Linked DNA regions of Homo sapiens: region 1 is linked to region 2. Evidence: promoter capture Hi-C in 16 types of primary human blood cells and fetal thymus (Javierre and others, 2016). All regions are on one chromosome and are shown on one strand. The core of a region is centred on a gene start or on the middle of the fragment in contact, and the rest is flanking DNA. Distances in the headings are between cores, read along the strand shown.

Region 1 (3,865 bases), core at 1,256-3,755, 410 kb after region 2:
TCCCCAGGTCTTTGAGCCTTGCTCTTAAAGGAAGATCATGAGTCCCACCAGGCAGTTCTTCCTTCTACTACATAATCAAACTCCTTTTCTCTAAAATGTACTGAGTTTGGAACCTACATGCGACTTGTGCCCTTTGATTTGTTGCCCAGATTAGTTTGTGCTGGGCTCTATCCTATCACCAGGAATGGTGGTTTAATAAACCCTGGAGCTATACTGTCCAATATGGGCACATGGAACTATTTAAATTAAAATTAAAGCTTCGGTTTCAGCTTAATTAAAATTAAAGCTTCCAATTCTCAGTTGCACTAACCACCTTTCAAATGTTTAATGGTCTGTTGTACCATGATGCACAGAGGCACTGCTACAGGGTTGTTTGCATGTTTGATGTGAATTTCCCCTTTAAAAAATAAAAATGAAATTCAACATATAGAAACTTTCGACATATTAACTTGTGTCCTGTTTCATGCTACAAGTGAATACTATAAATTGAACTTAAAGTAACATATGCCACTAAAATACTGCTTCTTAATCAGTTTCACAGTTTGGGCTTTGTGTAAAATTCATTTGCTAAGAATGTTTGAAAATAACCTGTGACTTCATCATGGGCTCATAATTTTATGAGCCACTGTGGACAAACACTGTCCTTTTTTGTTTGTTTGATTTTTAGATACAGGGTCTTATTCTGTCACCAACGCTGTGGTGCAGTGGTGCCATCATGGCTCACAGCAGCCTTGAATTCCCAGGCTTAAGCAATCCTCCTCCCAGCTCAGCCTGCCAAGTAGCTAGGACTACAGGTGTGTGTCACTGCATCTGGCTTTTTTTTTTTTTTTTTTGTAGAGGCAGGGTCTCACTATGTTGCCTAGGCTGGTCTCAAACTCTTGGCCTCAAGTGATCCTCCACTTCGGTCTCCCAAAGTGCTGGGATTGCAGACATAAGCCACAGCACCTGGCCTTTAAAAAAAAAAAATGTACCTTGCACACTGCCCAGTACAGTTGCTACTTAGTAAATACATAGACTAACTGGTCATCTTGAAAGCACTCTTAATTTTATATGCCTACTTCTCATACACAAGTCTGTAAGAGGTTTCCACTAAATGTTCATTTCAGATTCTGAATTTCAACTACCTAACACCAGCCCTATAATTATGCAGTGTGCAGGCATTTTTTTCTCTAGAATATCTACCAAATGATTTTATAGTCCAAAGACACATTTATACTGTGACAGAAAATCCACCAACAATGCTTCATTGTGGAACTATCTTGGAACAAGATTAGCAAAAGTTGATAATTATCAAAATTGAGTAATAGATGCCTGATATCCATTATATTATTCTTCACTTTTGTGTATGTTTTTTAAAATTCCAGAGCAAAAGATATTTTGAAAAACTTAGTCAATTATATACAAATTTGATGAGGCCTCACACATACTTTACAAGATAACTATAACTTAAATATGGCTGGGTTCATAGCACTTTATTGACTATCCCAAGCCAGTGACCTGTTTCATGAAGTCCTCTCCTTGTATGGTCCTGAGGCGTGGTTGTTCCTTTGAATGGGGAAACATCATCAAATCTCGCTGGAGATGGGGTTCAGGCAGGTTTTGCACACAGCAACTCCGAGTTGTCATGTTTGACCACCTGGCTGTAAGGCCAGTAGTCTCTGTCTCCTCTTATCAGGAAAAAAGGTGAAAGATCTGCCCGCATCCAAACACTAAAGCAAACAACTGCAGGCAAGAGCAGAGGAACAGCTGCTTCCGGTCCACCTTGCTCCACACTCAGGACTGCACCCACTGCAGAGATGCCTACAGGTAGGGCCAAGTCTCCCAGGTACGGGTGCTGAATGCTTAGCACACCACAGAAAGTCCAACATAATCTACCTTAGAATGCCTCCATGGATACACCTACTCAGCTGTCTTAGTTTTACCTTCTGCCCTATGGTTACGCTACACATGGAATCATGGGAAATGCTGACTAGGAAGAGAAGCTCATCCACTCGAAATCAAGTTCCCCACAGCCCTGAGAGTCAGCAAACCCTACCCACAGTCCTTTCTGTACATGCCAGGCATGGCTCTCAAGGCTCATTCAACCCTCATAGCATCTTGGAGGTGGGAAAGTGAGGCAAAAGAGGTTAAGAAACTTCCCGAGGCCCCTTGAGCAGTGTCTGGTTCCCAAGCTTCTGCTCTCCCTGCTACACTATGCTGCCTTGTGACATGTCCTCTGCAGAATGGCACCTTCTGAGCCTGCCCTTCCCATATTCCCCTCTCTGCCCCTCTGCACAGCAGCCAGACATCCACGTTGCTCTCTCTCTTGAAATGCTCTGCCCAAGACCCCCAGTTGCTGGTTTCTTCCTTTTCTTTCTTTCTTGGTGCCCTGTTCTTTTCCTTCAGAGGAAGGAGATTTTACACATATTACAATCCAATATATATGATGCATATGTCTATTGACTTGTTTGTTGTCTAGACTAGATAATGTGCTTTGTGCAGGAAGGAACCACATCTGTTTTGCTCCCCATCAGATTTCCAATGCCAAGCACAATGCTTGGCCCTGGTAGATGCTCAAATACTTGCTGAATGACGATCACTGTTCAGTCAATCCTTTCAGTAAAAAGATTTTTAAATTCTCTATTTTGAGCCTAAAATAATAAATATAACCATCTATAAGAATACAGCCCAAAAGACAGCATGAGGTCCAAGAAAGGACTGAAAATTGAATAAGAAAACAAGCCAGCTTATGTCAGCTTTGAACAGCAAGAGAAATGAAACTTATAAAATGCATATTGGGATTCTGAAAGGTTATTTGCAGGAGCAATCCAACGGGTAGGTTTTAATCTCAGATCCTAAATAAGCTTATGACTGAAGCCAGCTCCTCTTGCCCAGTGCTGCTTTCAACTGTTAGAATAAGCTGGGGAGGCACTTAATGTGTTTGTTGCAATAATCTTCTTAGGGAAAAGCCCTTAGAACCAATATTCCAGGCAAATCCAGCAGACAAAGGTTACCTGGTTGTTTCAAAGCCCACCCACATTTCCCATTCTCCCAGCTTCCACACAGAAAGGTTAGATTCTTCTCTCAATAGTCCCATTTATGCTCACAGTGACCTGGCACATGGCTTTTGTTCACCAAAGAAAAGCCTTTCCTTTCAAGGACTTAAGTCTTCTGCAATAAGAGTTAATTCTTTAAGTTTAACAAAGTTCTCCCAATACAAGTAGTCCCCACTTATCTGCAGTTTCCGTCACCCATAGCCAACCAAGTTCTGAAAATATCAAATGGAAAATTGCAGAAATAAACAATTCGCAAGTTTTAAACTGCATGCCATTCTGGGTAGTGTCATGAAATTTCTCACTGTCCAATCCCATCCTGCCCAGGATGTGAATCCTCCCTTTGTCCAGCAGATCCACGCCGTAGGCGCTACCTACTCATTAGTCACCTTTAGCTGTCTCAGTTATCAGATCAACTGTCACCATATTACAGTTCTTGTGTTCAAGTAACGCTTATTTTACTTAATAACAGCCCCAAAGCACAAGATTAATGACGCTGGCAATTTGGATACGCCAAAGTGAAGCTGTAAAGTGCTTCCTTTAAGTGAAAAAGTCAAACTTCACAACTTAGGAAAGGAAAAAATCTTGTACTGAGGTTGCTAAGATCTATGTTAAGAATGAATCTTCTATCTCCGAAAATTGTGAACAATATGTGGTTGTTATAACCGTTCTTTTTTTTTTTTTGAGATGGAGTCTCGCTCTGTCGCCCAGGCTGGAATGCAATGGTGCAATCTTGGCTCACTGCAACCTCCGCCTCCTGGGCTCAAGCGATTCTCCTGCCTCAGCCTCCTGAGTAGCTGGAACTACAGGTGCACACCACCACACCTGGCTAA
Region 2 (4,045 bases), core at 775-3,274:
GTTTCCCAGATCTCAAGTCCCTTCTCCTGGCAGTCATACAACTGGACTTGGAAAGAAGGCAAATAGGATCCTCTTCAAACTCAGCCAAAGTTAGCTGGCTGGGTTCTCCTTCCCATCTACCTCTCCTGCCAGGAGGAGGAAAGCTAGTGGGATGGGAAACCCAGACTCAGGGCCATCTCCTACTTCCGCACAGCTAGCAGCCCAGGCCTAACCAGCCAGCCAGCTTGGCCTTGCCACAGGCCCAAGGCCACCCCCCACCAAAACATGTGGAATCCATCCTCTCAGGGGCTGTCCCAAGGGCACATTTCCTATGGCTTGCATGCCAAGGAAACTGGAGCGGCTTGTCTGTTCCAGGTCCTTCCAAGGCCAAAGGCCCACAGATGGTGCCCAGGCCAGGTCTCAGTGGGCAGGCCCAAGGGCTACAATGAATGATGCAGGGAGCCCTCAGCAACACCCTGGGCCCATGAATCCCCAACGGGGACAGCAAGGTGGGAGAGATGAGCCCCAGCTGGAATCCCTGGGACCAGGTCTGTCTCTGCCCATACCCAGACTCTCTTTTCTCTTGAGAAAGGAGGAAGAATGAGGAGTAAGAAGGAAAAAAAAATCCAGTCACTGTCCCTAGTTAAGCCATCTCCTTAGAAGTGAGGGCCCAGTGGGGCAGGTAGGCTGTGTATACTCCACGAGGATCCCTAAGGACCTCTGCCTGGAGACATGAGTCGAAAACAGAGGAAGCCCACAGCAAACCCGTAGATGAGCAAGAAGCCAGTGTCAAATGCTTGGGCACATGGCTTCGGACGTGGTGGAGTTAGAACCTGAAGGCCAAATAAAAATGCAGAGAGGGTGACAAGGCAGATGGGCACAGTTTCCAAGCCCTCTGGGGCAACCTGAACAGCAGACTAGAGCACTGGCAGGGTCAGGCTGAGGTCCTCACACACTGAGCAGAAGTCGCTGCTTTGCAAGGGCTTTTGAAGCTGCAATCTGAGCAGCTCTCAAAACCCCAAAGGGGTCAGGACAGCACTCTTTGAAGCAACTCTCGCAGACTCCTCCGGCCCCAGACCAGCAGGGCTCCACTCTGCACGTCCAGACTAATCAACTCCCGGACACGATGACAGGAGGCAGAAAGCCCAGAAGAGAGCCGGCCTGTGACTGGGCTGGGCCTCCCCTCAGGCCAGGCCACCACCGTCTCTGGTCTAAGCTGGAGTCCTCCCAGCGAAGGCGCCTGGCCCTGCCTCAGGAGTAAAGTCCGCCCGTGCACAAGCTGGAATCCCCTGGCCCTAGCCTCAGCGTCCCGTGCCCGTGGGAAGCCAGGCTCCTTCCTCCTTATTAGCAGCCGGGAGCCATCTCAGACACGCTAGAGCTCCGCCAGTTCCCAATCAGAAAAAACAGGGCAGACTTGGACTGGGACCAAGGCCGATGCAGGGTAACCCCGGTTTCTCAGCGAGGGCCCTTTCCCAAACTTTCTCATCACTTTCCAGCCCTCCTACCCTAGACTTCTCAACCCACCCGCCACAATTCACTGGCTCCCCAAACTCCTCCATCTCCCAGTCACTCGGAATCCCTGTGCCGCGGAAGCCCCCAGGCCTCCCAGCTGCTTCCAGCCCTCCGCTGCAGAACCTGCTTCCCCTTCCCACTTCTCCACCGCGACCCGCCGCAGCCCGAGGGTCCCGGCCCGCCCTCCACCGTCTCCCGGAGTTCCTCATGCATTCCCCAGGGCCCTCACTCGAGGCCCCTTCAGCCGCCGGCCCGGGCGCCCTCGCAGCGCCTCTCGCCCCCGTCCGCTCGCGTCCTCCTTGCTCACCTGGTACTGCGCCGCGGGGCCCGCGGGGCCCATGGGGCGGAAGGCGGCGGCCCCGGGGCCCCCCACGCCTCCTGCCGGACCCGGTCCCCGGAGCGCCGGTCCGGGCAGCATGCCGGGTCCCGCGGGGGGAGGCGGCGCTCCCAGGGCCGCAGCCACGGCGCCGCCGCCAGGGCTTAGCGGGGGCAGCGGGAACCCGCCCGCGCCTCGGCCCGACATCGCTCCGTCCCGTCCCGCGGTGCCGCGATCCGGACTCCGGGCTCCGCGTCGAGTCCACTCCGTGCTCTGTGCTCCGCGATCCGGGACTTGGCGATCTTAATTCCGGGTTCCGGGATTTGTCGATCCGGGCTCCGGGATTTCCTAATCCAAGTTCGCGAGTTCCTCACAGACCCGGTTCGGGACAGATTCCGCTCCTGCCCGGGAGATTCCGGATCCAGGATCTGCTGCGGGCCCGCCTTCCGTCCCCGGCCTCCGGAGGTTTGGCCGCCCGAGTCGAGTTACCCAGAGGCGGCTACGAACTCCCTGCCCCGCCCAACCCAGCCCAGCACTAGGCCCCGCCTCTACCTGGTGCCCAATGCTCGAGTGCCTCCTCGAATCCTGCCCCTCGCGAGACCCGCCCCCAGCGGGCACCGCCCCTAACTGCCGACCTCAGAGCCCCACCCCCCCACCTTTGGCCCAGCCTTTCGTCGGAGGGGCGGGAGCGGAAGCTGCGCGCGGAAGCGCCGAGTGAGGCGCGGGGTCAGAGGTCTAAGGTCACTTAGGGGCTTCACAGTGAATGAGCCGTTGCTACTACTCTCTCCCGGTATAGCACCCTCACCGAATTCCGCGGCCACACTCCCCGAAAATAGTTTTGTCAAGTCTCCTTTCTGCATCTTCGGCGTTAAAGACTCAACTCAGAGTCGGTAGCTGTGGCTCACGCCTGTAATCCCAGCGCTTTGGGAGGCTGAGGCGGGCGGATCCCCTGAGGTCAGAAGTTCGAGACCAGCCTGGCCAACATGGTGAAAACCCCGTCTCTACTAAAAATACAAAAATTAGCCGAGTGTGGTGACGGGCGCCTGTAATCCAAGCTACTCGGCAGGCTGAGGCAGGAGAATCGCTTGAACCTTGGAGGCAGAGGTTGCAATGAGCCGAGATCGCCCCACTGCACTCCAGCCTGGGCGGCAAGAGTGAAACTCATCAAAAAAAAAAAAAAAAAAAAAAAAGACTCAGCTGCTCTGTGGGGCAGAACAGCAGCCAACTCAACTTCCTGTAAAAGCTCATGCTGGTAGCTCGGAACTGCCAAGGGACCTAGGAGGCTCCAGACTTGACCCAGCTGGTGAACGGTCGACTTGGCCAAGGCTGAGTTCTACCGCACATTTTTAACGTGGCTCCGCCTCACTTTAAGGAAGCCTGGTACTTTACTCCCCAGAAAATGCTTCTAGTCAAAAGAAATTTGGCTTATGAGAAACCTCCCCGCAGTTTAAAAAAAGAGGTCTTTCTCCAGTATTTATAGCACTTAATTTTCAAAAATGCAGTATCTTTTCAGGTACACTGTGCTGTATCAAAGTATTCAAAAATGCGTCAGCTGTGCCAGGGAGCCTACCCTCTGATGGTCTGGATCTCCTCGCCGTGATATGGACCAGTGCTGCTTAAACTTTAATGAGCACATAAAAAACACTCGAGGCTCTTATTAAAAATGCAGATTGTGGCAGGGCCCAGGACTCTGCATTTGTAACAAGCTGCCAGCGATGCTGTTGCTTCTCAGACCACACTGTCAAGAAGCCGGGATCTAGACTTTTTTTTTTTTTTAGTTTTTTTACTATAATTGCTTTATTTTTCCAGCCCCAACCAAGTAATACTTCCTTCCTTGCATCATAGCACCCCAGATCTTTTTTACAGTATAGTTCTCCAGTGCTTTTTAGAAATTAGTTCTCCTCATGCCTCTAGTGATAAACACCGCTGCTGCTGTTTTCTTACCTCCTGAACTTAGAGATCCCACTCTATTGCCCCAAGAGTCGATAACCTGTCAGTCTGGGGACTGGCCACTGGAATTGTTAAAGTCACTGAATCATGGCCCCTCCCATCCCTGTAAAGTGGGTTAAGAGTTCATGATAAGGCAGCTAATATCCATTTCAATCCTTTTAAGCTTCTAGAACAACAGTAATTCTCAAAGTGATAGGGGCAGTGGAGAATCAGAGTCCTCTGGGAAGCTACTCCAAAATACCTCCGCCAGCCACCCCTCCAATCCAATGGCTCTCAGTATTGTATTTG

Evidence for each region. The method cuts DNA at HindIII sites, captures the fragments that hold promoters and counts their contacts. A CHiCAGO score of 5 or more calls a contact.
Region 1: a fragment that was not itself captured here is called in contact with the fragment with the promoter of SMARCD2 in region 2 in 1 of 17 cell types (activated CD4 T cells); the score reaches 5.7 in activated CD4 T cells.

Annotation. Positions count from the first base shown.
Region 1 is chr17:64,254,214-64,258,078 of GRCh38, forward strand. All of the region lies in intron 1 of TEX2 (testis expressed 2), which reads right to left. Among named protein-coding and RNA genes, the nearest start is that of TEX2, 7.1 kb to the right of the region's middle. The HindIII fragment of the contact is 672 bases long and covers 2,170-2,841 here.
Region 2 is chr17:63,840,661-63,844,705 of GRCh38, forward strand. It overlaps SMARCD2 (SWI/SNF related BAF chromatin remodeling complex subunit D2), which reads right to left and starts at 2,025. Exons shown (of 13, transcript NM_001098426.2): 1 at 1,799-2,025. The coding sequence starts at 2,014. RefSeq lists an enhancer at 948-1,027, silencers at 1,748-1,977, 2,348-2,517 and a cis regulatory region at 3,627-4,016. The HindIII fragment of the contact is 8,345 bases long and covers 1-3,918 here.